Linked DNA regions of Homo sapiens: all the other regions are linked to region 1. Evidence: promoter capture Hi-C in 16 types of primary human blood cells and fetal thymus (Javierre and others, 2016). All regions are on one chromosome and are shown on one strand. Each heading gives the region's core, a stretch centred on a gene start or on the middle of the fragment in contact. The rest is flanking DNA. Distances are from core to core; before and after follow the strand shown.

Region 1 (4,076 bases), core at 1,117-3,616:
CTCTGACCTCTTCCAGGGAAGAGTCTCACAATCTTGAGGAAACTAAAAGGTAAGAAATCAAGAGGTAAGCTTCTTTGAACAGCAAACCATATTTTGAGTCTTCAAAAAAGAAACAATGATCATACTAATTCAAACACAACTACTTCATTGGTTTTGATACTATTACTGACTTAACTAGCCCCTACTTTCTCTGTTCTTCAGTCTTCATCTGTGAAACAAGGAAAACAGAACTCAATCTCCCGCTTTAAGAGGGATTTCACATAAAACACAGGAATTAGTGGAAAAAGGCTTCATTTGCCCCACTCTCAGTCTCAAACTTGGAGTTAAACACAGATAACATTCACAAAGTTTAACTGAGAGAAAAGGCTATTCCAATACCCTTACCTCTCACCCGAAAATAAGACAGACTTTTTAAGTCGTATTATGGTAGATGTGAGCAACAAAGAAAAGAATATGAAATTATTTGTTACTTAAAACACAAAGCAGGGGCCAAGCAACTGTCTTTTATTTGGGAATCCAAATACCCCTTTTCCCTTCCTTCTGGCTGGCCTAAAAGGATCACAACCTGTTATGCGAGCTCCAAGTTTGAACTGTAGAAATTTCTGCTCCCACATATCTTCCAAATCTTGCGCCAGCAATATATCCTGTTCATCTTCTTCATCATGAAGGTCAGCTTTCTTCTTTGCCAGTCGCTGGTTTTCATCCAGAGCACGAAGCTCGTGGTCTGAATACAGGCTTCTCTCTATCTCAATCTGGGAAAATTCAAAGGGCAAAAAACTACCTTAATCTGGCAAAATTAAAAGGAAAAAAAAAACAGGAAGAATAAAACAGAGACATGGCACACTTGGCAAGCTCAGAAGTTTATCACCCAACATAACCAGATACACAGTCAAAACACCATGCAGAAAGGAAATGGAGGGAAAAAAAGGTCCTCTGAACTTTGGGCTTGAGTTACATTTGCCAAAAATGTTACAATGTCACTGGGGGTCAAGAGTGCTACAAAAACAGAGAGCTGGGTTGGGCAATGCCTGCTGACTCACCACAATCCAGTCATGTCAGTCTTTGATCAGAATCTCACTCACCAAGGACTTTCCTGTTCAGGGACTTTCAAGAGGTTGTTCCTTCTTCCTAGAATGTTTTTCCTCACATTCTTTCTTCTGGGAGAGTCCTACTCATCTTTCTGATTTCAATTTAAATATGACTGTCTCAGAGAGACATTTCTCATAAAGAGAAAAACCTGTATTCAGAAAGTCTGAGGCATTCCTTGACACTCACCATAAAATCAAAATGTGATGTATTTGTTAAACACTCTTATAGTGCCTTGTGTTTTCCTTAACAACACTTATCAGGGTCTGCATTTAGTTGTATGATTATTTGGTTACTGACTGATCCCCTCACTCAACTAGACTGAAGTACTCTGAGAACCAGAGCTACTTCTGCCTTATTCATTACAGCATCTCTATCACTTAACATACTCTCTGATGCATAGTATGGGCACAATGAACATCTGTAGGTTGAGTAACAAATATTTGTCAAGCGAGCGAGTAAATGAATAAATCAAGCAAAAAGCACAGAAGAGAAGTTTATAGTTCTCAACAGACCAAGACAAAAACATCTCGGATTCTGAGGAAACATATCACCCTTCAAACACTTTCTGTAGCGACCTCACACCTTCACAGCCACTACACTGTTTTTGCCCATGCTTCCTCACTTGCCCCTCACACAGATAGCCCCATGAGATAAAACAGAGTAGGCTTATCATAGGCATCTGACAGATGTGCCCACCGCCTCTTGTATTTCCTTCTTAACATTCATCACATCACAAAGACTTTCTCCCTCCAGACTTGTAAGCTCCTAGTGACACGGACCGATTCTTGTTCACCACAGGATCCCTATTGTGTTGCATGAACAAGAAGTAGAGTATCTCCAAAGAGTTGTCTAAGGTGACAATAAACACGGCCAATGAAAAGAAACCACTTTTTGTTGAACATCTATGTACCAAACCAAGTCAGTAAGGTAGGTACCATTCTGCGGATAAGTACCGTATACTTAAGTTCAGAGAGGTGAAATTACTCGCTCAAAGTCACGCAGAATAAACGTCACTCTGAACCCTGCATCTCAGTCCCACCTGCTGCAGTAGAGACGCCATCTCTTCCTGCAATGGGGTCAACGGCTTGGAGACTACAGGTGGCCGCTGCAGGCACAACGCGCCCAACAAGCGCCATGGGGATCCGTTGCTTGAGGGTGCGGCTGCAAGAGCCAGGCTGCGAGAGCTTAGACTGCCGGCCCAGAGCCTCTCGAACCGCCGCCAACCCCCCGCCACCCCTAACAGCGTCCGCCTTACGGGCGCCGCCATCTTTCGTTCTCCCACAATGCACCGCGGCTCCCAGGGATCCCTCAGCCGCGGGAGCGGCAAACTAGGGGAAAGCTCAGTCCCGGAACTGCTAGAACGAACCATTCGCATATGGAGGGGGTGACCCACCATCTCAGAACATTAAAAAAGGGAAAGAATCCCCTGGTGAACTACAGTGAAAGTCTTATTGAGCATTTAAATGGAAATAAAAATATTCAGTGGACCTAATGAAGAGTAGATGACTTTCCCTTCTGTCCCCTCCCCGACAGGCACTCATGGTACCGGCGCCGGCGCAGCTGTGACTGTCGCTGCAGACGGAAACTGACTGGGGTCAATTCAAGTCATGCAGGCTGTGAGAAACGCGGGGTCGCGGTTCCTGCGGTCCTGGACTTGGCCCCAGACAGCCGGGTAACAAATGACTGCCCCCTCGAGCCCACCGCCACCTCCAGGACTATGCTCCTACTCGTGTCCCTTGAGCCACCCGGGCCCCAGTGACCGTTAGGCCGTGGCCCTCACCGAGCTTTTCTTCCCAGCAGGGTCGTGGCCAGAACGCCGGCCGGGACCATCTGCACAGGCGCTCGACAGCTCCAAGACGCTGCGGCCAAGCAGAAAGTTGAACAGAACGCGGCTCCCAGCCACACCAAGTTCAGGTGAGCCCCACTTGGACCAGCCCTCTGGAGACCCGCAACCCCTGACTCTTGCCCGACACCCTCCAGAGTCAGAACCAGTGAATTTTCAGCTATGTCACTTGCTATCCGTGGGACCTTATGCAAATAAATCTGAGCCTCAGCCTTCTCATCTAAAAATGCGGATAATGCTGAGAGAGGTTGTGAGAATCAGATGAGCCGTGGTACAGAGTAAATGTTCAGTGAACATTCGTTAAATCAATGAGTGAATGTGAGATATCCATAACATGTATCAGCGTTCTTTTCTTCTGAGATGGAGATCTTTTCAGACCAATAACCTTCCCTGCCTCCAAAACAAAATGGGGAGGTAGAGGGCGCTAGCGATGGAACAGATGTTCCTGCACGTCTTACGGATGGTCCAGGGTGGGTTTTGTGCTCAGCCCTAGGAACTGGCATCTTGCTTCCCACCAGTGCCACCACCTCTGTATGCTGTATACACATCCACTTAACTTCACATCCATTTAACAAACATTTACCAAGAATCTACTATGAGTGAGACACCATGCTAGGTGCCGTGAATACAGATACAAAAGATCATTCCTCCCCACAAGTAGTTCACAGTCTTTGAGGGAAGACAAACATGCAAACATTTTAACCATAATCTGCTCAATAATATAATGGAGGTAAGCATTGGTTGGAAGTATGAAATCATAAGTGTCTAACTCCTGGCCGGGTGCAGTAGCTCATGCCTTTAATCCCAGCACTTTAGGCGGCCAAGGTGGGCGAATTACTTGAGGTCAGGAGATCGAGACCAGCCTGGCCAACATGGCGAAACCCCGTCTCCACTAAAAGCACAAAAACTAGCCAGGCGTGATGTCTGGCACCTGTAATCCCAGCCACTCAGGAGGCTGAAGTAGAAGAATCGCATGAACCCAGGGAGCGGAGGTTGCAGTGAGCCAAGATCACGCCACTGTACTCCAGCCTGGGTGACAGATTGAGACTCTGTCTCAAAGAAAAAAAAAAAAAAAAAGAATAAGTGTCTCATTCCTGAGGAAATCAGGCAAGACCATGGAGAAAAGAACATGGAGCTCAGAAGT
Region 2 (3,002 bases), core at 1-2,500, 850 kb after region 1:
AGAAAGGTGAAGGTCCAGCACTGTTTTCCATCCAGCAGCCTAACCTCCCACTGAGATACTGAAATGCAATTATGGACTCAACATACTTTTTTTTTTTTTCCCAGTTTGGTACACTTTATTAATTAATATACGAAATCACTTCCAATTGGGCCAGAGTTTGAAGCATAAATGAGGACTTTTAGCTTTGTTAAGCATAACCTCCCGGAGATGATGATTAAGAGGGCAATGGGAACAATGTTGAATATTGTAAACATCTGTTATTTACCCAATAATCAGGATAGATCATGGTTCCCAAACTGGTTCTGAGTGGCAGATCAACATGGAACGGTAATATTTAATTCATCCATATGAACTAGGAATTTTACTACAAGAAAATACAACTCAATATATAAAATATATAAGATATTTTTAAAAATCACATTTGAGTGTCCCCATTAACAGTGTTTTCTGTTAGCAGTCAAATAACAAACTTTTGGCACTTACTTAAGAAAGAAAACATTTATGGGAGAAAGAAAAACAAACATCTCAATTTTCTATGAAATGAGAAAAGGCTTCTGTCATTTGATTTTCCAAATAGAAAAGCGTGAGTACCACCCTTCGGAACAATTCCCCTAACCTCACTGCTTCCCTCAATGATCAGTCTTGGTATTTCACATTTTCAAACCCAATAACTCTTTTTTTACGAATTGAGGCTAGTCTTTTTAGGACTTCTACAACTTTTTAAAAATTAGAAATAAATAAATAAGCTGAAACATTCACTTCTAGGGGGATGAAAAGTCAAAACTGACCAGTCTGGCCCAAGGAACGCTCACCCAAAGCCCCACATAGGAGCACATGGCCAGGCTAGAGGCCATGGGCCCCGCATACCTGGTCAAGAGGTTGGTGATCTGCAAGGCCAGGGCAGCGCGGTAGCGGTCCTCCTCCCGCACCAGGTAGCGAACCTCGTCATGGATGCTGATGCAGAAGCGCCCATCTATGGCAAACTCTTCAAACAGCCACTTCATGGCCACAAGCATGAGGTGTAAGTAGTCAACAGCAGAGCTCTGTACCACCCAATTCACACGGCTGGTCATAAACTGGGAAGGGAAGGTGGGCAGAGGTGAAAGGGGCTATGCTACATACCAATTAACTCCAGGGTAGAAGCCCCAAGAGAAGCTTCACTCTGGCCCTACCTACAAACATTGGTAAGGTCCACAGGGAGCTCTGCCCTGCCCTCCCTGGGGCCCCTCTGCCCATGCTCCAAAGGTAGCAAGATACCTCTTCCTGGACAGCCGAGGGCTCCAGGGCTCGGCTGATGCAGCAGCCCAGCACCGGGGTACGTGGTATGTCAGACGTAGCAATGCTCTCAAGCTTATTGAACATTTCTGACTCTGTGCCCCCCTTCCATGCCCGTTCAGCAACCACCTCCCACTTCTTCCACTGTGACCTAAGGGACCAGAAACAGAGGGCAGACTTTGTCTTTCAGCATCTCAAAGCTAAAAAACAAAGCATCCAAGCTCTTCTGGGGCAAGCCCAGACCCCTCCCTCCATCCTTAACACAAAGAAGGTTCTTACTTCCTTGCAGTTTCTCTCTGGACCTTGCGCAGATCCTGCAGGGAAATCCAGCCACCCTCAGTCCTGTCCACTGGGAGGTTCAACTCCCTCACCAGCCACTCGCCCTCATCCGACAGCCGATACCTGGGGGCAGTGTTATCACCATCATTCCACGGGAGTGCTTCCTGTGCCACGCTAGTGCCTTGGCAAGGAATGTTCACATATCACTTCAACTTTTAAAAACACTGACATCATGCCAGTCCCCTAAAGGCTTTTATTCAGAGGAAGAAACGGCTCAGAGAGGCTAAGTGCCTTGCCTAGGATCATGGAGCTAGAAAGAGATGCAGCCCAGGCTTTTGTAGCCCCAAAGCCTGGGCCACCCCATGGTAGCCCAATAAAGGACAAAGACTCCAGCACAGGAGGCACCACTATTCCTACTGTCCTGTTTCTTTAGACACTGAATTGCCCAATGACCAACACGGGCCTTTTATTCAGGAGGCAGCAAGGGCCATCACTCTAGATTTGGGGGGATAGGGGTAAGAATAGGCTACTCCCTGAAGGGGAGGGGGCATTTGTTGAAGCAGAAAACACAACAGCCAGGCCTGGCTTACCCCTCTCAACTGCCACAACCCTAGACAACTCCCAGCTTCCATCTAACCTGCAGACCTCACAAGGCTTGTCGCCTGAAGGCTCCAGAGACACGTCACTCGCATAAATGGCTTCCCCACCACCTGCACCCACAGTCCAAACTCCTGTGACACTTTCAAAGGTGTCCACAACTAAAGCCCCACCACCTTTCTCGCCTCCACCAGCACACGCTGCTCACGGTATGAGCCTTACCCGACCTCACTTTATCCACTGGACGATACTCAGCTCCCCTTCCCTGCATTTATAGTCATCAACCACTATATCATTTATCACATACTTAACTTTTAGTTGTTGACGAGAAAGTGAAGTTTCCACAATGAGCCAGCTAATTAAATGTGGACAGTGTACTGTACCTCAGGAAGTTGTACCTCTCTTCCCTCAATGTTTTTGGAACCCTGCAGAGAGTCTGCTAAGGCCCTGAGCACACAGTATGCAGTACGATCAGAGGAAACAAATTGGAGAGCTAGGCTAAGTAACCTGGAGGCCTGGTAATGCTTTCTCCAGTATCAACATCAGCCTACATGCTCCAGTTTGCCACAGCGCCCTCCTGTCAACTCCTGTCTTCCACCCACTCCATTTGCTCTCATTCCCTGTAGGCATCTGAGTTTGCAACCCCTGTATTATTGATTATGCAGCATAATCAGAATTGTCAAGATGCTACCACTTGGTAACAGTATACCAAAAGTATAGCTTTACTCCCATGAGGAAAAACTGTTTAAGGCTGACTATAAAGCAACCAAATGTCACAATAGGACAAATCATCCTGGAACCAGGTTACACAGGTGTGGAAGGAGAGGGGCTAGGTGAGAGTTCAAGTAATG
Region 3 (4,076 bases), core at 1,174-3,673, 780 kb after region 1:
GCTGACCGTATTAATCAGCTTTTTATCCTCTACAAATTTGTTAAGCATGTCAGTAATATATGCAGGCAGTTCATTTGATAAAATGTCCCACAGAAGATGAACTCAGAGTAAAAAATTATAAAACACATAAAGAAGTCCTGTGGCAAGAAAGACTCAAACAGAAATGGGAAAATTCATATTCAAGGATTTAGAGCAATCTGAAAAAAATCTTTAATTATTTAACACAAATACTTAATACAGTATTTAACTTTATTTATTTAAAGGTGGGATCTCACCCTTGCACAGGCTGGAGTGCAGTGGGGCGATCTCGGCACACTGCAGCCTCAACCTCCTGGGCTCATGCGATCCTCCCACCTCAGCCTCCTGAGTAGCTGGGAGTACAAGCATGTGCCACCATGTCCGACTAATTTTTGTATTTTTAGCAGAGATGGGGTTTCGCCATGCTTTCCAGGCTGGTCTTGAACTCCTGAGCTCAAGCAATCCACCCACCTCAGCCTCCCACAGTGCCGGGATTACACGTGTGAGCCACTCTGCCTGACCTAGTATTTAAAATATTTGAAGATGTAAATGAAGGAATAGAACTCACAAAATAAGGGATGGATTTAGAAAACAATGAAAGACAACTTCTTGAAATGAAAACCTCAGTAGGTGGTTTAACAGTAGACAAAACATTGCTAAAGAGAAAATTAGTAAAGTGGAATACAGAGCTGAGGATAACTAAATAAAGCACAGATTGTAAAGAGGTGGAAAATATAAAGAATATTTAAAATATATGCAGAGAACTTTGATAAGAATATATTATCTTCTTAAACACATAGAATGTTCATAAAAATTAATCACATGTCATATACTAGAGCACAAAGAAAACATGGGTAGGTCCCATAAGGTAGAATTATTACAAACTATTCTCTGTGATCACAATGCAATAAAACTGGAAATGAAAACCGAAACTAAAAGTCAAAAAGCAAAGACACTTTTACTTGGAAATTAAAATACCTTCTATTCAACCATTGTGGAAGACAGTGTGGCGATTTCTCAGGGATCTAGAACTAGAAATACCATTTGACCCAGTGATCCCATTACTGGGTATATACCCAAAGGACTGTAAATCATGCTGCTATAAAGACACATTCACACGTATGTTTATTGCGGCACTATTCACAATAGCAAAGACTTGGAACCAACCCAAGTGTCCAACAATGATAGACTGGATTAAGAAAATGTGGCACATCTACACCATGGAATACTATGCAGCCATAAAAAATGATGAGTTCATGTCCTTTGTAGGGACATGGATGAAGCTGGAAGCCATCATTCTCAGCAAACTATCGCAAGGACAAAAAAACCAAACCCCACATGTTCTCACTCATAGGTGGGAATTGAACAGTGAGAACACTTGGACACGGGAATGGGAACATCACACACCGGGGCCTGTTGTGGAGTGAGGGGAGGGGGGAGGGATAGCATTAGGAGATACACCTAATGTAAATGACGAGTTAATGGGTGCAGCACACCAACATGGCACATGTACGCATATGTAACAAACCTGCATGTTGTGCACATGTACCCTAGAACTTAAAGTATAATAAAAATATATATATATATAAAAATAAAAAAATACCTTCTAAATAACTCTTGGAGGAAAAGAGATACAAACAAATTACAGGATTTTTGAAGAATAATTACAGATAACAAAAATACTACATGTTAAAAATCCATGGAATAATGTTAAAAACAAGTGTTTAACAAATGAAATAATGAAATCAATACAAATGAAATAATGAAAATAAATAAATTCCCAACTCAAAAACCTAGAAAAAAGAGAAAGTAAACAACAACAAAAAAACACAAGAAACTACTAAAGATAAAAGTGGAAATTAATAAAGTAGAGAACAGAAAAATAGTGGATCAAATTAATCAAAATCTTGGTTCTTTGTGGGGGAAAAAAACACCATTAATTAATATAATAATCAAAACAGTGGAGTAAAAACATGCACAAAATGAGAAATGACAAGGGAGAAATACTGTTAATACAGAGAAAATCTCAAAAAATACTGTGAGACTACAGTAGATTCCTGTGCAAATAAATTTGAAAACCTAGAGGAAATGGATAATTTCTTAGGCACGTACAGTTTAATAAAATTGAGCCAATTTGAGATGGAAAGCTTAAGCAGACCAGTTTCCATAGAAGAAAAGAGAAAGTTATGAAGGAACTACTTCGTACAAAAACACCAGGCCCAGATAGATTGGCAGGAAACTTCTGTCAAACCTTTAGAGATCAGGTAGATAGTCCTAATGCTACATAAATTGTTTTAGAGCATAAATAATAAAGGAAAACTTCCAAGTTCTTTGAATGAAGCAAGTATAACATTGAATTAAACAAATATAACATTGATTTTTTTATGCTATCTTTATCAGGTATAACCTTAAACCTCATAAAGATAGCATAGAAAAAAGAGGATATAGACTAATGTAACTTACGAATATTGATATAAAAGTCTTAAATATTAGGGGACAGATTGCAACACCACATTTAAAAAAAGTACACCATGATCAAGTGGGATTTAATAGCAGGAATACAAGGTTGGTTCAGTATTTGAAAGTATATTACTATAAAGATTATACGATTATCTTCATGGATCAGAGAAAGCCTTTGACAAAATTCAACACTCATTCCTAATAAAAGCTTGAGAAAAATCAGAATGGGTGGCTGTTTCCTTTACATCATAAAATGTATATATCTAAATTCTAGAGTCAGCATCTTAGTGGGAAACCATAGAGACATTTCCTCTAAGGCCGGGAACAAAGCAATGATGCCTACTGTCTCCATTACTATATAATGTTCTGATTGGCTAGCCTATGCATTTAACCTAGAGAAAACAATCACAGGCATAATAATGGAAAAATAAAGGCTGAGTGCAGTGGCTCACACCCATAATCCCAACGCTTTGGGAGGCCAAGGTGGGCAGATCACTTGAGGTCAGGAGTTCGAAACCAGCCTGGCCAACATGGTGAAACCCCTTCTCTACTAAAAATATAAAAATTAGCTGGGCGTGGTGGTGTGTGCCTGTAATCCCAGCTACTCGGGAGGCTGAGGCAGAAGAATCACTTGAACCTGGGAGGTGGAGGTTGCAGTGAGCCCAGATTGCACCATTGCACTTCAACCTGGGTAAACAAAGTGAGATTCCATCTAAAAAAAAAAAAAAGAAAATATAAAACGTCTCTCTTTGTAGATGGCATGATAGTATACCTGGAAAACCCTGGAGAATCTGTGATAAAACCATCTATAAACGAATTCATCAAGGTAGCAGAATATAAAATTAATATGCAAAAATCAGTAGCATTCATACATAATAGCCAGTTAGCTCACGCCTGTAATCCCAGCACTTTGGGAGGCCAAGGCAGGCGGATCACCTGAGGTGAGGAGTTCTAAACTAGCCTGGCCAACATGGTGAAACCTCAACTCTACTAAAAATAGAAAAATTAGCTGGGCGTGGTGGTGCACGCCTGTAGTCTCAGCTACTCAGGAGGCTGAGGCAGGAGAATTGCTTGAACCCGGGAGGTGGAAGTTGCAGTGAGCTGAGATCACGCCACTGTACTCCAGCCTGGGCCCCATTTACAATAGCAACAGAAAAGTTAAAACAGGAATAAACCTGAGAAATGTCCAAAACCCATGCGAAAAAAAACTATGAAACACTTCTGAAGGACAAAGTAGAAAACTAAGAAGATATCCCCTGTTCTTGATTGGGGAGTCTCAACATCACGAAAATGTCAATTCTTCCAAAGTTAATTTATCAATTTAATACCAGTAAAAATCCCATTGAGCTATATATATAAGTTGACTGCAAAATTCATATAGCAAATTGTACACACAGGGATAGTTAGGGAAAAGCTGAAAAGAGCTCTGAGAGAGGATTAACCATAGCAGAGACTAAACACCACAAAAACTTTTATAAATAAGAGTGCAGTACTGGTACATGAGTAGATAAACAGAAACGGAATAGGATACAAAGAATAGAATAGGTAATGCATAAGAATGGAAAGTCTCAAAATAGACCCAACTACAAGTAAAATCT
Region 4 (4,076 bases), core at 920-3,419, 750 kb after region 1:
GAGGCTGAGGCAGGAGAATCACTTGAACTTGAGAGGCAGAGGTTGCAGTGAGCCGAGATCACGCCACTGCTCTCCAACCTAGGCGACAAGAGCAAAACTGTGTCTCAAAAAAAAAAAAAAAAAGAAAAATGTGTGTGTGTGTGCGCGTGTGTGTGTGTGTGTATGTGCGTGCATACATGTATGAAAAGATTGGAAGGATGTCAATAGTAGAGCTCTCTAGGTAGTAGAATTGCAAATGATTTTAAATTTGTCTGTAATTTTTTTTTTGAGATGGAGTCTTGCTCTGTCACCCAGGCTGGAGTGCAGTGGTGCGATCTTGGCTCACTGCAACCTCTGCCTCACAGGTTCAAGCGATTCCCCTGCCTCAGTCTCCCAAGTAGCTGGGATTACAGGTGCCTGCCACCATGCCTGGCTAATTTTTGTATTTTTAGTAGAGACAGACAGGGTTTCACCATGTTGGCCAGGCTGGACTCGAACTCCTGACTTCAGGCAATCCACCCACCTTGGCCTCCCAAAGTGCTGGGATTACAGGCATGAGCCACTGCGCCCAGCCAATTTTTTGTATTTTCTAAAATGAGTAGATATCACTTACGTAATAAGAAAAAACATATATTTAAGTCTCTTCCTTAATACACACAGATAGGCAGGTGTGCATTTCAGTCCTACAGCCAGTGTCTTATTTGATGGGAAAACCCTAGAGGCATCCTTACTAAGATCAGGAATTAGATAAAGACTTCACCATCTCTGCCACCATTTAATTCTATATTGAAAGTACTAACCAATGCAATCAATTTGTTAAAAAAAAAAAAATCAGGGGCATAAGAAGTGGAAAGGGAGAAGAAAAACTATCTCCTCTACTTACAGATAGTATTATAGTATACTTAGAAAACCCCAGAGAATCCATTATAAAACTAACATAAATTTTAAAAGAGTTCAGTAAAATAGGGGGATATACAATTAAAAAACAAAAACAATAACCTTCATTTATACAAACAATAACCAACTAGAAGATATAATGGAAGAAAGAGCCCCATTTTTAGCAATGACAACAAAATTAATACCTAAGACAAATTTAATGAAAAATGTGCACAACGTTGTGAGGAAAAAATTTTTAAAACCTTTTTATTTTTCAGAAGCAGAGTCTCTCTCTGTCCCCCCAGATGAAGTGCAGTAGCACAGTCATAGCTTATGAAGAAATCTTTAAAACACTCCTGAAAACTCAAAAGTAGGCTTGAAGAAAACAGAAGGCATCTCACATTTGTGGATAGGACAACTGGCCAGGAATGTGACATTCTGAAAGAAGCCAGCTCTCCCCAAGCTTGTTATTTATGTTTAATATTATCCCCAAAACATACTCCTAATATTTCTCCTAAAGCTAGACAAATTAATTCTGAAGATCATAGGGGGAAATAAACATGCAAAAGTAGCTAGAAAAGCCCCCCAAAAAGCAGATCACTAAGGACAAAACTAGCCCTAACAGATTAAACATGCCACAAAATCTCTATCATCGAAACAGTATGATATTGGAGTATGAATAGATAAAGAGACCAATGGAACAGAATAGAAAGTCCAGAAATAGACCAAGCACATACGAAAATATAAAACATGATAAAGATGGCATTTCAAGTCATTGAAAAAAGATGGACTTTTTAATAAATTGTGTTGGCACAACTAGATAGCATTATCTAAAATTAGTTTGGGCCAGGTGCGGTGTCTTATGCCTGTAATCCCAGCACTTTGGGAGGCCGAGGTGGGCGGATCACTTGAGCTCAGGAGTTTGAGACCAGCCTGGCCAACATGGTGAAACCCCGTCTCTACTAAAAATACAAACATTAGCTGGGCATGGTGGCGTGCGTCTGTAATCCCAGCTACTTGGAAGGCTGAGGCTTGAGGATCGCTCGAACCCAGGAGGCGGAGGTTGCAGTGAGCTAAGATCATGCCACTGCACTCCAGCCTGGGTGACCAGAGCGAGACTCCATCTCAAAAATAAATAAATAAAATAAAATAAGTTTGTAGCAGTTTTTTTTTTAAATTAAAGGAATCTTTTTCAGGCTCAGTGGCGCATGCCAAAGTTCTCCCAAGACAAACCCTAATTCCCCAACTTGGGGCAGCCCCCTTAACGGCTCAGACAAGCAAAATTGCGTACACAATTTTGCGAGCACAAAGAACTCGGGCTCCTAAATAGATTGGAACCTGTGCTTTCCAGAATCTCTTCCAGCCTATAGTCCACTAATCCCTGTTCTCTCTGTTGCTCTCAGCATTTAGCATGTGGCAGGGCAGCCCCCAGCTCATGGCACACAGCTGTTACCCCCACTTGGCACTTGGCAGGGATACCCAGGAAGAGCCATGTATTATTGACCATCAAGCTCCACCTGCAAAGCTACTGGGTTTTCCAGCTGCCCTGGCACATCCTAGGAATTCTCTCCCTGCCTGGAAAGGGCTAGGTGGCAGGTGGCTGCCCACCTTTCCCCCTCTACAGACCTTGCCTCCTGGAGAACCAGGAATGAGGGCCCAGTAGAGGCCAGGGTTGAGGGAGGGAACCCAGCCCACAGGGTGGGAGCCAGGCGAGCCCCCACTAACCTCATCAAAGGTGATTTCTTGACTTTGCCAGTTCTCAATGTTGAAGAGCATGACCACTCGGCCATACTTGTCCCGACTAGAGAGGACACCAGGGTAGCCAGCTTCAATGGTGCAGCGGACAGCCTCTGGGGACAGGCTGTCAAAGAGCTCAGGGTACTGCAGCCGGAAATTCACATAGCCTGGAGGAAGGAGAGCAGAGGAACCCCCTCAGGGAGCCATCCCATCCCTACCCCATCCCTCCTAGTGGGACTCAGAGACCTGACCTCCTGCCAGGTCCTATGTGTGACCGAGCTGGCTACTCAACCTATCCGAGCCCCATGTTTCCTCTCCAAAAAATGGGATCTCGATATTGACCTATCTATTCTAGATAGTCTAGATAGTGGCCTATCTCACCAAATTGTTGTGGCAATCAAATGAGATTCAAGGTGTAAACATCATCATAAGCTTGGGCAAACATGAGGCATAGTCTTAAATATGAGGATAATCATTACTTGTTATTTTCTTCCCCATGGGGACAAGACACAGATTTTTCAGCTGGGCACAGGATAAGCTGAGTGGTGAGGTGTGCACAGGGCTGAGGAGAAGCTCCCAAGTAAAATCCAAACCCCAAGCAGGACACAGAGCTCCTGATTCCAGCAGCACCTCTACGGTCCACAAACACCATCCTTACCCATCCTGAGCAGTTCCCCACCTCTGTGGCCTGCACCACCAAATTTGAGCCCCTAGAGGACCTGGGCACCTCTGCCAAGAGACTGCCACATCAACTTGCTCACTGCTCTGGAACACTCTGGGCACCTCCCAACCCCTGGCCTTTGTCTTTGCTGTTGCCTCTGCCCTGGCTGCTCTTCCCCACAGATATCTCATTTCCTTCGGGTTTTTCTTCAAAATTCCCTTTGCACTGGGACTTCCCTGGCCACTTTATCTAAAACTTCAGCCCCTCAAGACTTTATATCCACCTCCTTAATTTCTTTCCTTATTCCTTACCATTATTTAACCCTATATAATTTTACTTTATTTATTGGATGTATTGTTTCCACCATTAGAATATGAGTTCCACCAGGGCAGGGAACTTGTCTGTTTTGTCTCCACTGCATCCCTTGGCCTAAAACAGTTCTTGGCACAGCATGGCCCTGAATTACCATTTGGAGAAGGAAGAAGTAGGAAAAGGAAAATCATTAGCCTGCAGAGGGCCCACTCAGACCCCATTTCCGTCCACCAGTGCCCAAGATTCGATTTCTTGAGGGAACCACCCCCTTTTTTTTTTTCTTTCTTTCTTTTTTGAGATAGAGTTTTGCTCTTGTTGCCCAGGCTGGAGTGCAATGGCACGATCTCAGCTCACCGCAACCTCTGCCTCCTGCGTTCAAGCGATTCTCCTGCTTCAGCCTCCCCAGTAGCTGAGATTACAGGCATGCGCCACCACGCCCGGCTAGTTTTGTATTTTTAGTAGAGATGGGGTTTCTCCACGTTGGTCAGGCTGGTCTCAAACCCCCGACTTC
Region 5 (4,076 bases), core at 467-2,966, 700 kb after region 1:
GTATTCCTGGATGACTCAGCTTTAAGATAGTTTCCCCTTGACTTTAAGAAATGACTCACATACTTTTACTATGGAAGTGACAGGGGCTGCTAGGCCCCTAACCGCCCACCTGTCAGCGAGCCATGTTAGCTTAACTGTATTTTTCTCTTAGGCTAAACTTAGTGGGAAAGATATTCAAGTACCTCTTTCATGTCCCCTGCTTACTCATGCTGGCGAGTACTGTGTGCCTTTATTCCAGACGATTCAAACTTCCTTCTTATCCACCTGACATTTTGTGGCATATCCACAGATGCCATGCATGGGCCTGGCATGGAACATACAGAGATGACTCAGAGTCTCCATCCACAAGGAACACCAAGTCTCGAGTCCCTGTATTTTAGCCTATTTAGTCATGCTAGTGTCATTTGGGGAAGTGGCTGTTGAAATAATAGCTTTCAGGCAGCCTTTGCCTTGTCCTTCTTTAGGTGTAGGGGCTTGAGAAAAAGGTGAGGGGTCTTTTCTGTTCCCAGCAAGTTGCCTTTCCAAAATGGCCGTGCAATACTCATCTGTCTAAGGCCCAGCTAGTGTTTCAGATTTCATCTTACTTTAAAAAGCGGCAGCAAGATTATATAGTTACCTAGTGCTAATCCCATAAGAATTAAATACATAGAGCCTCATTTAAAAACAGATTAATGTAGCTGTTAGTAATAACAGGCCAGGGAGAGGCCCCAGGCACTAAAGGTGTTTGGTAACTGACATCAGGGGAGGTCCCAGGAGGACCTTCCAGAAGGCTGATCCTGGAGCTGGGCACCATGTCTTTGCCCTTCCCTTGCATGGGAGAGGTGGCATCTCTTCACAGAACATCCAGCAGTCTGTCTGACATCAGGCAGGGTTGGCCCTTTATCCAGATCAGATGTGTTTGGATTTAATTAAATTGAGGCTCCCAAAGTGCCTACACAATTAGCTGTAATTGCTCCTCAGTAGTGTAGCAAATCTGAGTTTTGTAACTGTCCCAATGACATCTGAACATCTGCTCTAGGTCTCAAATAATTAGTCTCAAACCTGAGTAATGATAGATGGGTCTAAAAGGAATCAAAGCTGGGTGCAGTGGCTCACACCTGTAATCTCAGCACTTTGGGAAAGGAAGCCAAGGTGGGCAGACCTCTTGAGCTCAGAAGTTCGAGACCAGCCTGGGCAACATAGTGGAACCTCCCAGGCAAGTTCGCCCATCTCTACAAAAAATCAGAAATTAGCTGGGTTTGGTGGCATGTGCCTATAGTCCCAGCTACTCAAGAGGCTAAGGTGGAAGGACGTCTTGAGCTTGGGGAGGTCAAGGCTGCAGTGAGCCATGATCATGCCACTGTACTCCAGCCTAGGGAGACAGAGCGAGACCGTCTCAAAAAAATAAGAATAAAAATAATAAAAGGAATCAAATGGTTGGGGGGAGTAAGATGTTTAATAATTGAAGCATAAATCTCTGGAGTACTATTACCTAAGTAGATTTGTGATATAAGGCAAGGGGCTTGGGCTTTGGGGTTGACATGGTCCAAAGTCTAGCGTTGGACTTTGAGTAGACACGGTCATGAGTAGACATGGCCCTACTCATTATGTGAGGGTGGACAAGTCATTTCATGTCTTTAAATCTGCTTCCTTGTCTGTGTTTAAGTTCCTAGAAGAGAGGCTGAACACTGTACATCTGTTGTTTCATCCATTCATTTAGGTAACACTGATTGAGTGCCCACCAAGTATCTGGCCTCACAGATACAGTGGTGAACAAGAGCAAGAATATCTTTGCTTCATGGAGTTTATAATCTAATAGAGTCTCATTCAATGTTGGAACCAAACATAAAGATATAGTTAGCTAAGAGATGACAAAATTAGGCAGAAACCTTAGGAAGCGGTGGAGAAGTAAATATTTAATAACAATTTAAAATAAGTTTCTCAGTACTATTTCTTAGGCAGGCAAATAATGTCCCCAGCACAAACCATTGCTCCAGCATGAGTGATATGTTGGGTGTCTTTAGCATTGTCGAAACTGGCCTGAGGAAATGTAAACATCTTTTTTTCCCTTATTTTTTTGCTAGATTTTAAAACTGGTTAGATTCATATTTAAAAAGAAATAAATACACATGAGAAAAACAGTCAAACTGTGCCAAAGGCTACATACAATGAGTGAAACTAGATCTTTTTCCTACCCTAGACCCCCAGTTTTTCTCCCCAGGAAATCAATATCTGCTGCAATTTCCCAGTGAATATTCAGTCAGATATGTGTGTATGTAATCCCTTAAAACCCAAGCAAACACGGGAGAGGGTGCCAGCCCCACTGTTTCACCCCTTGTTTTTATCCCTTAAGATGGCTCAGAGCCATTCCATGTCAGATCAGATTCTTTTTTTTTTTTTTTTTTTTTTTTTTTTTTTTTGGAGACGGGGTCTCACTCTGTCACTCAGACTGGAGTGTAGTGGCACAATCTTGGCTCACTGCAACCTCCCTTCCCAGGCTCAAGCGATTCTCCCACCTCAGCCTCCCAAGTAGCTGGGACTACAGGCACGTGTCACCACTGCCTGGATAATTTTTGTATTTTTAGCAGAGACAGGGTTTCACCATGTTGGCCAGGCTGGTCTTGAACTCCTGAACTCAAATGATCCACCCGCCTCAGCCTCCCAAAGTGCTGGGATTACAAGCATCAGCCACCGCGCCCGGCCAGATTCATCCTTTTTCACCACAGTGTAGTCCTTCATTTAACCAGTCCTCTACTGATGGAAATTTAGGTTGTTTCCAAACCTTTGCTGCTACAAACACCAAAATGCTGCAGTGAACATTCTTGCATGTACATGTTTACATACATATGCAGTATAAAGTCCCCAAAGGCAGAATTACTAGACCAAAGGTTTGTACTTTAAAAAACATGAACAGATGTTACCACATTGCCTTCCAAGGCCTATACCAATGTGTACTCCCTCAACAGTGGATGGACCAGAGGGCCTGTTACCCACACTTCTTCCAGTCCTGGGTATTGGCAAACTTCATCTTTTCTAACATGGGCAGTGGAAAATGATTTCTAAGTGTCATTTTAACTTGCATCTATTTAACAATGAGTGACATGAAGCATCTTTTCGAGCTGCACTTTTAAAAGACAAAAGAGGCCGGGCGCGGTGGCTCACACCTGTAATCCCAGCACTTTGGGAGGCCGAGGGGGGCGGATCACAAGGTCAGGAGTTCAAGACCAGCCTGGCCAACATGGTGAAGCCCCGCCTCTACTAAAAATACAAAAATTAGCCCGGCGTGGTGGTGGGCGCCTGTAATCCCAGCTACTCACGAGGCTGAGGCAGGAGAATCGTTTGAACCCGGGAGGCAGAGGTTGCAGTGAGTCAAGATCGCACCACTGCACTCCAGCCTGGGCAACGAGCAAAACTCCATCTCCAAAAGAAAAAAGAAAAGATTTCATCCAGCTTTTCTGTCAACTAGGACAATGGTTCTCAAAGTGTGGTCTCTGGACCAACAACGTCAGCATCACCTGAGAACTTGTTAGAAAAGCAACTTCTCAGCCCACCCAGACCAGTGGAATCAGAATCTCTGGAGGTGAGGTCCTGCAAGCTCATTGAGCCCCTTGAGTTTCTGATTCCGTGGGTTTGGGGTGAGGTCCAAGAATGTGCATTTGAACCAGTTCCCAGGCAATGCTGATGCTGCTTGCTCAGGGGCCACACTCTGAGAACCACTGAGCTAGAGCATCATTCTTGCAGTAATATATAACCTCCGTGCAGCTTTTCCAATTCACTCTTTACAAGAAAGATTACCAGAAAGCAGTTACATGGATTTAAAGGCATTTAAATTTTCTGTTTGTTAGGTATTAGTGGATCTACAGGAAGCGCCTGGTTGTGTTGAACGGCGATGTGCTACCTGTGGAAACCTTGCTTTGAGGAAATGTTTGGAAAACTGCTACCAGGCTAAGCTTCCGAAAGGCTAAGCAGCGCCCCCATCTGTGAAGGTTGTTTACTGCAAGTAGAAAGGAAAGGGAGTCTGAAAAGGGGTGGCCCAGAGATGAGAGAGTGCTTCAAAAAAATGCCTTCTCGCATTGGTCTGAGCTGGAGAGAGCCTC
Region 6 (4,076 bases), core at 607-3,106, 680 kb after region 1:
ATCAGGCTTACAAGGAGGAGAGTGCAAAAGCAGCCATATCTCCTAAGGGCCAGGCCTAAATTGGCATGGCAGTCCTTCTGCCACCTTCTGTAAGCCCAGAGAAGCCACAGGCCAGTCCAGATCACAAGGAGGGAATCTAGCTCCCGGCAGAAGAATGGAATAAGTGGAATTATTGGCCGCTACATTTTCGAACTACCACATAGATAGAAAAAGCATATTCCTTCGTGTACCATTTTAGCAGCATTTCTTCAGTATTTATATGTTTATATAAATTTCAAAATATTCTATTGTTTTAGTCCATATTTCCTTCCTGACCTAAACCATGTGACTGGGCACCTATTCAGTTTTTTGTTTTTAAATTTTTTTCTTGTGGTCTGTGGATAAGTTATATAAACAAACAACTACACATTGAACCCCACCATAGTAAATGCAGTCTAAAAATTCAATTTTGTAAACCCTGGTGTTGTATTATTATGAAGTTAATTAAAAACAGTGTTTTATCAGTAGGTATTGTCATAAAATTAAACCTTTTGAGACTTCCACTGTGTATAATTGATCTTACATTGAACTGAGAAAGTCCCAAGTGATTGTGAGGCAATTGATCCCTAACACACACACACACACACACACACACACTCACACTGAGAATTACTGCACCCCACTCTGAGAATGGGGTGTTAGGTAGGCTGGAAAGAGGACAGTCGCCTAACGCCAATCATGTAATAGCTGAATTCACATTATTATGGCACATATTATTTTTAAATATATTTTTGTATATTTTAAAAACATATATTTGTCCTTTTAGATTTACTAAGTGTCTCTATATTCTGTTCATTGAAGCAAATCTCCCCCAGGTGTGTAATGTATGTCCAGTGCTCTGGGGATAGAGCTAGAGGTGAATGAGCAGCAGGAGGGGTTGGCTTGAAAACAGCATCTAAAGTAATCAAGTCACCTGGATGTTAGGACGGAGCTGTGCATGGAGAAGGGGCAACCCCCCCAGCAACCTGACTGGAAGTGAGTCTTGAAAGACAAGTAGTAGGTGGCCCAAAGAAACGCTGGGTGTGAAAGAGCATTCCAGTCAAAGGAGACAGCTTGAGCAAAGACTCCTCAGATAAAAGTAGTTCAACACCACGTGTACCTGTTCTGGCTGGAGTTGGGCCTGGTAGTTTAGGTTTATTTGAGCTTAGGCAAGAAGTTAAGCGAGTACCAGGGTGTAGCCGGCCTCCTAGGCCAAGTGAGGACCCATGCAGTGGAGGGTGGGGGCCAGGCTTGTGTGTTGAGATCACCCCTCCATTGGCGGGTGGATGATGGAGTAGGTGGTGAGAGCAAGACTAGAGGCTTGGAGGCCGCTTGGGGGGCTGCTGCCAAGATTTTGAGGAGGGGACCTGACTCTAAACTGGGAATGTGGCATCAGGACAGTCACATGTGTCATCATTAAATGTGAAATCTGTGACTAGACAAAAAGAAATTTTACTTCATTCTTTTGTTCTATTTTCTGAGATTATATTGTATTCTAAACATGATCAGAAGGTAGGCATATGAAATTTACTCATTCTTCTGATATTTTTAAGCTCAGCATATTTCCACTTTTAATTTATAAACAAAATTTTCTTTAAACTTTCCTCCAGGAGTGATCAAAAGCTTAATTTCTTGGATAGTCCTCTTCCTCTATGCAAAACTTATTATCTAACTTGGTAGTCTGAAATCCTTTATAAGTTCTGTATCTAGATCTTGTATAGTGTTTGGTTGTCCAATTGACATTTTTATAAGCTTGCTTTTTGTTACTGTCATAATCCACTCAGCTCTTATAAATGCCTTCGCCTGCCTTCCAAATGCCATGGCTTTTGCAGTGATATTTGCACCTGTGGTGTTACGCTGGCAAGTGGCTTCATGTCCTTAAGGTCTTAAAATACTCTTTCCCCTCCTCCCCTCCCCCGAAAAGGAAGCTTGTCTGGGAACTGGTTTGCTTAAGGTGATAGCTTCACTTCTCTTAACTTTGTGTAGATTTGATTAATTACACACACATACAAGGAGTAAATCAAAGATGGGTTTTGGGGATCATCTGGTTCTGAGAGAAATGATAGGCAAGTAGGTTAAGGTAAATTATTAATAAAACACTCACCACTGCCATATAATACAGAGGGGAATGATTGACGTCACTATCATTTTATATTATACGACTCCAGTTTATATAGGAGACAAATCCTGGACAACCATCAAGCTTGGGCTAAAAGCCATGGAAGTGAAACCAACAGCGGTTTCAGTAAATGCAGTCACCTTGTACTGTGGTTGTAAACCATAATCATTTCTTAGTTGTAACTTGGATCATCTTCTTTTCCTGGTAATTAACTATTTGTGATTTTTGCATTTCCTACCAACGCCTAGAGTCACTCTGTGTTTTTACAATGCACCGTTGTTAGCGAGGCTTCATGCCTTGCGTAGGCTAACAAGCCTTTATCCTTAATCAATCCAACAAATATTTACACTGCACTGCCCTTACAGCATATTCTCTGGAGCATAGAGTAGTGCCCTCACCCCACAAGGCACTTACAGGCTCTTAGAAGAATTTGCAGCCCTTCCCAGCACTAACTGAGAGTAGCAGGTTTGGCTAATGGAGTAACCACTACAGCTGTGGCCTGTCTCGTTAGGGAAAGAAGAAGTGAGCTTTTAGTGAGTGTAGGCGCTATGCTATTTCATATACATCAGCTCCTTTAATAATGAGCTAACCTGTCAAGTTAGAATGTGTTCAAAATATATCACTTGCTTTCTTTTTATTCTATATTATGGAAATAAGCCATGTTGAATTACTTAACAGTTACCCTAAATTGAAATCCTCTTTATATATATGTCCTGGTTGATTTCTAAAGCTAATCTGATGCAGAGTGTATTAGTAAATGGGGAAAGGCGGTAAATCATGGCACGGATGTAACGTAATAAAAGCCTCATGTTTATGCTTTGTGTGCAGAATTTCCCTGGAACAAAAATAGGTTGAAAGAGTTTTGCTAAAAGATTTTTCAGAACGTTGCTCAAGGAATGTAGAGAAAATTGACCTCCCTTGTCCTTTCTTTAGATACATTCCACCGTTGATCTGGGGGAAAAGTGGACACATCCAGACAGCCTTGTATGGGAAGATGGGAAGGGTGAGGTCGCCACATCCTTATGGGCACCGGAAGTTCATCACTATGTCTGATGGAGCCACTTCTACATTCGACCTCTTCGAGCCCTTGGCTGAGCACTGTGTTGGAGGTGAGCTGCTTTAGATTGTGTGATTGAGCCATCACTCAGAGAAGGAGCACTAGTCAGTGGAGAGCACAGCAGTGTGAATACTTGTGCCACTGACTCTGCCCATGGCATCAGGGGCTGTTGGGAAGCCTGCTGGGATTCGTCACTTAGGAGCAGCCTGCAAAGGTTAGCTTCAGCGTATGTTTGCCAGTCACCATGTAAAGCTCTTCAGAACTCATTGTAGAATAGTTTTTTTTTTTTTTTTGAGACGGAGTCTCGCTGTGTCGCCCAGGCTGGAGTGCGGTGGCACGATCTCGGCTCACTGCAAGCTCCGCCTCCCAGGTTCACTCCATTCGCCTGCCTCAGCCTCCCGAGTAGCTGGGACTACAGGCGCCAGCCACCACGCTCGGCTAATTTTTTTTTTGTATTTTTAGTAGAGACGGGTTTTAACTGTGTTAGCCAGGATGGTCTCGATCTCCTGACCTCGTGATCTGCCTGCCTCGGCCTCCCAAAGTGCTGGGATTACAGGCGTGAGCCACCGCCCCCAGCCGTAGAATAGGTTTTAATCCTGTTGTGAAATACAGAAGCTTGATGTACGGGGATGAGGGAGTGCTTGGAGCCCAGGCACCCCAGGACCAGGCCTCTGGGTTGATGACAGCAACAGAGGCCAGACCATTCTCAGTGCTTCGTGTATACTGTTATCTCATTTAATCCTCAAATAGCGCTGTGAGGCTGGTATTTACTATCCCTACTTTACTGATGAGGAAACTGAAGCTCGGAGATGCAGTATAGGCTGGCGTTTGTTGGATAGCAGTAGATTAAAAGGCTCCCAGGTTCCCTTTGCTTAGGTTTCC
Region 7 (4,076 bases), core at 799-3,298, 640 kb after region 1:
GCCAGGGCTGTGCAGTTCCCGAAGCCTCCTGGCTATGTTCTGAGGCTCTCCCATCCCATGGCAGTGAAAGACTCAGAGGACACAAAGGCACAACTCAGACGGGGATGGCTAGGCCTTCTCCCCAAAATCATCTGGGCTTGTTTTCGTCCCTGCAGAATGGTTTTTTTCCCCCTATGATGGCTCTGACTAATTTAGTTAAATGGCAGATAAAGTGGGGAGAAGGTGGCCCATTTCCTCCTTACTTTCTCTCCAAGGGTGTCATGTTGCCCACATTTAAGGTTGACCACTTTTATCTGGTGTAGCAAGTTCAATAGTGACCCTCCAAAATTTATGTCCCATCTGAAACCAGTGAATGTGACCTTATTTGGAAATTGGGTCTTTGCAGATGTAATCAAGTTAAGATGGGGTTGTACTTTTATCTAAGCTGCCACCAAAGAGGCTGAAAAATCAGAATGACATGGGATGGAAACAGACCATGTTTTTGGGGTGGTGTGCTGTGGCCTTCTGCTGTCCTTCTCCTGACATCCTCACAGGGTACTTTGGGGGACAAAGTTTTATCTCAGGGCATTACAGTTTGCTGGGAGATCCAGGCTAGGCAAGAGGGGATTTTTACCTGCAGGGAAGAATGGGTAGTCTTTCCATGGGCAGGAGAAGCCCCTCAGCAGGAGAGGGGTGGTGTCAGGAGCAGGGGTTCCAGCTGTGCACTGCCAAGGATGCATTTTAGCACAGAAAACAAGAACAATGCATCTTGGAACTGTTTATGGGACATGATGATCACCACTTAGTATCCAGTGATTTATTAAGTCTAACATGGTTCCATTTTAGAAGATATGGTTCCATTTTAGAAGAATCAAGAAGAGTATGTCCTGGAATTAATTTTAAACTCATTGGAGGAGGCCCAAGCAGTTAATCAGCTAGTGAGTTCATTGCTAATGAGACTTGTGTGTCAGTTAGGAAGGAGTATGTTTTGTGGTCGTTTCTATCTGTCAACTTAGGTTGTTTACTGAGGCAAAATGGAGGAAAGTTTAATAGTGGAGATGGTAATAGCGAATATTTTGCGGTAGTACCCCAAAATATTAAAAATACGGTAGTATTGTATGCCGGCATTGTTTTAAAATGCTCTTTATGTATTAACATGTTCAGTTTACAGATGGTGTTCAGAGGGATTAAGGAACTTGCCCCAGGACAAACACTGTGGCTGGATTTGGCACTGGCTGTGTCACTGCAGGACTGGACCCTAAATGAAATTTACATCTTCAACCAGATGGAATTGGAACAGAGAAATCCTTTAGGGGTTTGGTTTGGTTTTCCTTGAGAGGTATTTGCCTTAGGACCCATAAGTATCAAAGCTTGTTGTGCTAGGTCCTTGAGGGTTGCAAGGAAGAGAGATCTCCCCCTCCCCCAGCTGTCTGTGTCCTCTGAGCTCTCTCACTTTGCTGATAGCTAAGAGGAAAGGAAAGGATGGTTCTGATAGCTGAATCACAGAGGCAAAGAAGCCAAGCCAATAAGTATTTATTCACAGAATGCAATTTGTATTATGTTAAGAAGTCATCTGTGGGTGTTCATGTCAGTTAGCTGTCATCTGAATTGATGGGAGCGTGTCTGAGTAACAAGGGTCCTTTCAGAAGGAAGTGGCAAACGGTCCCTTCAGCCACTAAGGACAGGAGCGTGGAACTCCTGAGTCATGAGAGGTAATTTGGGCATATTCTCTCACCATTCTAGAAGCTAGAAGTTTGAAAACAGGTTTTACAAGGTTGGCTCCTTCCTTAGGCTCTGAAGGCAAGACTGTTCCCTGCTTGTCTCCTCTTCTGATGGTTGCCAGCCATCCTTGGCATTGCTTGCTGTAGATACGTGGCTCCAGTCTCCACTTCCATCTTCACGTGGCCTCCTCCCCTCTGTATCTGTGTCTTTGTATCCAGATTTCACTTCTTCCAAGGACACCAGTCATGGGGTTAGGACTCCCTCCAACGAGTACGACCCCATCTTAACTTGATTACATTTGCAAAGACCCAATTCCAAATACCGTCACATTCACTGGTTTCAGATGGACATGAATTTTGTGGGGAGGGTCCCTATTCAACTTGCTACACCAGGTAATGGGTTTCCTTTGTTTGGGATCTCTCTGCTCTGTTTGTTCGTGCTTTCCGCACTGTAAGTTGTGTCCTGTCAGTGAATATTGGTGTTCCAAGGCTGAAAGCATCACGATCCCATGCAGGTGGAATGAATATGATGAAATTATTGGCACAGCTGAAAGAAAATATATAACTGTTTAATTTATTTGAAGAAAGAACAAAGGCCCTGAGGGTTGTTAGTTCTTAAGAATTTTACTGTGTAATCATCTATGAAGTAGGCTGGAAAATGGCCGTTTTCTGTTACAAAGTACAGCGATAGTTTTTTCCTGTGCTCTTTAGCCGAGGACCGCAATTCTGTCCCTAGAATCTCAGACATTTCTAGCTGAAAGAGACCTTTGGCATCATCTACTTCTAATCTAACCTTCTCATTTTACAGATGGGGCCTTTAGGGCCCAAAAAGATTAAGTGCCTTGATTCAAGGTCATCAGCCAGGAAAGGGCAGAGCAGACACTAGGACCCAGGTCTCAGAGCCCCCAGACTGGAGCTTTTCCCAGTGCAGTGGCAGTTTCTCACTCTATCTGTGCCTCCATCTGAAAATAATGCTTTTAGCCAGGGGAGAGCAGAAAGAGGCATGGGAGACACAGCTCAGGCCTTCACCTCTGGTGGAAATACCAGTCAAGCTTGTCTTAGAGACCAGGGGCAACACTGGGAGCTCCTTTGGTGACTAGATGTTGGGCATTTGGTAGCACCTTGGTTTCCTTTGTTAATGCGGACTATAAATGGAATTCTGACTACCATTTACAGCACCTAAATCCCATTCATAAAATGGCAGGGAAGGTGTGGGCTAGCCGACAGAGAAGGGATTGCCACAGGGACACAGGAAGCCCAGCCCATCATGAAGGTGGAGCTGGGTTTGGGGTGGGGGTAGGGAGACGCTTCCTTTCCATCTGCGACATACCCAGCCCTCCAGCTGTTCTCTGTGACTTCTTTTCCCTATCTAGGCTGCCTGATGTTCATTTTAACTGGATTTCACCTGTCTGGAAAGTGGGGAGGGCCACACAAAATAATACAATGGAATCAGAGTTTGCTGTATCTAGAACAAGTTCAGAATATTAATATATAGTGACAAGTCAGACTTGGGGAAAAAAGAATACCATAAAACAAAATGCAGCAAGATAAAGTGAATGTGAAAATTTTTCTTCTAAAATTACTTATCTCCTCATTTAATACCTATGTATATGCACGTACATGCACACACTCATACTTACACATGCTTCTACATTTTATACAGTCGTTCCTGTATATCCTTGGGGAAATAGTTCCAGTTCCCCTGCAGATACCAAACCCACAGATGATCAAGTCTGATATAAAATGACATAGTATTTGCATATAACCTATGCATATCCTCCTATATACATTAAATCATCTCTAGATTACTTATAATACCTATTACAAAGTAAATGATGTAAATAATTTAAATACTGTATTGCTTTTATTTAAATTTTTCTTTTTATACTATCTTTTCTCTTATTTTCTTTTTTTTTATTTTTTAAGACGGACTCTCACTCTGTTGCCCAGGCTGGAGTGTGGTAGTGTGGCAACCTCCACCTCTCAGGTTCAAGTGATTCTCCTGCCTCAGCCTGGGATTACAGGCACGTGCCACCATACCTGGCTAATTTTTTTGTATTTTTGGTAGAGATGGGGTCTCCCCATATTGGCCAGGCTCATCTTGAACTCCTGGTCTCAAGTGATCCGCCCGCCTCGGCCTGCAAAGTGCTAGGATTACAGGCGTGAGTCCCCTGCACCCGGCCTTATTGTCTTTTTTTTCAAAAATTTTCATCTGATTGGTTGAACCTGCAGTTAAGGAGGAACAACTGTACTTCATTCGCTAAGGCTGGGTTCTAGATCTAGCTGCTCCATGAGGACTTCCTTGCTTAATTTTTTTTTTTCTGGACTGATTTTTATCTAAGCTTCTAAAGTACAGATAGCCTTAACATAAATTTC

Evidence for each region. Contacts are between HindIII fragments. The CHiCAGO score rates a contact against its expected background, and 5 or more counts as called.
Region 2: a contact is called between a fragment that was not itself captured here and the fragment with the promoter of MRPL46 in region 1, in 1 of 17 cell types (naive CD4 T cells). The highest score is 5.6, in naive CD4 T cells.
Region 3: a contact is called between a fragment that was not itself captured here and the fragment with the promoter of MRPL46 in region 1, in 3 of 17 cell types (total CD8 T cells, non-activated CD4 T cells and total B cells). The highest score is 6.7, in total CD8 T cells.
Region 4: a contact is called between a fragment that was not itself captured here and the fragment with the promoter of MRPL46 in region 1, in 1 of 17 cell types (total CD4 T cells). The highest score is 5.0, in total CD4 T cells.
Region 5: a fragment that was not itself captured here is called in contact with the fragment with the promoter of MRPL46 in region 1 in 7 of 17 cell types (naive B cells, total B cells, naive CD4 T cells and 4 more); the score reaches 8.4 in naive B cells.
Region 6: a fragment that was not itself captured here is called in contact with the fragment with the promoter of MRPL46 in region 1 in 7 of 17 cell types (naive CD8 T cells, naive B cells, naive CD4 T cells and 4 more); the score reaches 7.5 in naive CD8 T cells.
Region 7: a fragment that was not itself captured here is called in contact with the fragment with the promoter of MRPL46 in region 1 in 3 of 17 cell types (total B cells, naive CD8 T cells and activated CD4 T cells); the score reaches 6.4 in total B cells.

Annotation. Positions count from the first base shown.
Region 1 is chr15:88,465,022-88,469,097 of GRCh38, forward strand. MRPL46 (mitochondrial ribosomal protein L46) reads right to left here and starts at 2,367. Exons shown (of 4, transcript NM_022163.4): 1 at 2,129-2,367; 2 at 566-752. The coding sequence starts at 2,356. It overlaps MRPS11 (mitochondrial ribosomal protein S11), which reads left to right and starts at 2,687. Exons shown (of 6, transcript NM_022839.5): 1 at 2,687-2,761; 2 at 2,887-3,003. The coding sequence starts at 2,697. RefSeq lists enhancers at 702-1,901, 2,368-2,537. The HindIII fragment of the contact is 6,788 bases long and covers 68-4,076 here.
Region 2 is chr15:89,317,674-89,320,675 of GRCh38, forward strand. It overlaps POLG (DNA polymerase gamma, catalytic subunit), which reads right to left. Exons shown (of 23, transcript NM_002693.3): 19 at 1,555-1,677; 20 at 1,258-1,426; 21 at 868-1,076. Among named protein-coding and RNA genes, the nearest start is that of MIR6766, 7.6 kb to the right of the region's middle. The HindIII fragment of the contact is 195 bases long and covers 1,154-1,348 here.
Region 3 is chr15:89,249,108-89,253,183 of GRCh38, forward strand. The region is part of intron 2 of FANCI (FA complementation group I); the gene reads left to right. Among named protein-coding and RNA genes, the nearest start is that of FANCI, 7.2 kb to the left of the region's middle. The HindIII fragment of the contact is 521 bases long and covers 2,164-2,684 here.
Region 4 is chr15:89,212,480-89,216,555 of GRCh38, forward strand. It overlaps RLBP1 (retinaldehyde binding protein 1), which reads right to left. Exons shown (of 9, transcript NM_000326.5): 6 at 2,581-2,759. Among named protein-coding and RNA genes, the nearest start is that of RLBP1, 7.1 kb to the right of the region's middle. The HindIII fragment of the contact is 1,706 bases long and covers 1,317-3,022 here.
Region 5 is chr15:89,167,715-89,171,790 of GRCh38, forward strand. The region is part of intron 5 of ABHD2 (abhydrolase domain containing 2, acylglycerol lipase); the gene reads left to right. Among named protein-coding and RNA genes, the nearest start is that of RLBP1, 52 kb to the right of the region's middle. RefSeq lists enhancers at 1-751, 1-30. The HindIII fragment of the contact is 4,422 bases long and covers 1-3,927 here.
Region 6 is chr15:89,148,607-89,152,682 of GRCh38, forward strand. ABHD2 (abhydrolase domain containing 2, acylglycerol lipase) reads left to right here. Exons shown (of 11, transcript NM_152924.5): 4 at 3,071-3,246. Among named protein-coding and RNA genes, the nearest start is that of ABHD2, 62 kb to the left of the region's middle. The HindIII fragment of the contact is 176 bases long and covers 1,769-1,944 here.
Region 7 is chr15:89,106,479-89,110,554 of GRCh38, forward strand. The region is part of intron 1 of ABHD2 (abhydrolase domain containing 2, acylglycerol lipase); the gene reads left to right. LOC124903573 reads right to left here and starts at 54. Exons shown (of 7, transcript XM_047433432.1): 1 at 1-54. The coding sequence starts at 54. The HindIII fragment of the contact is 1,403 bases long and covers 1,348-2,750 here.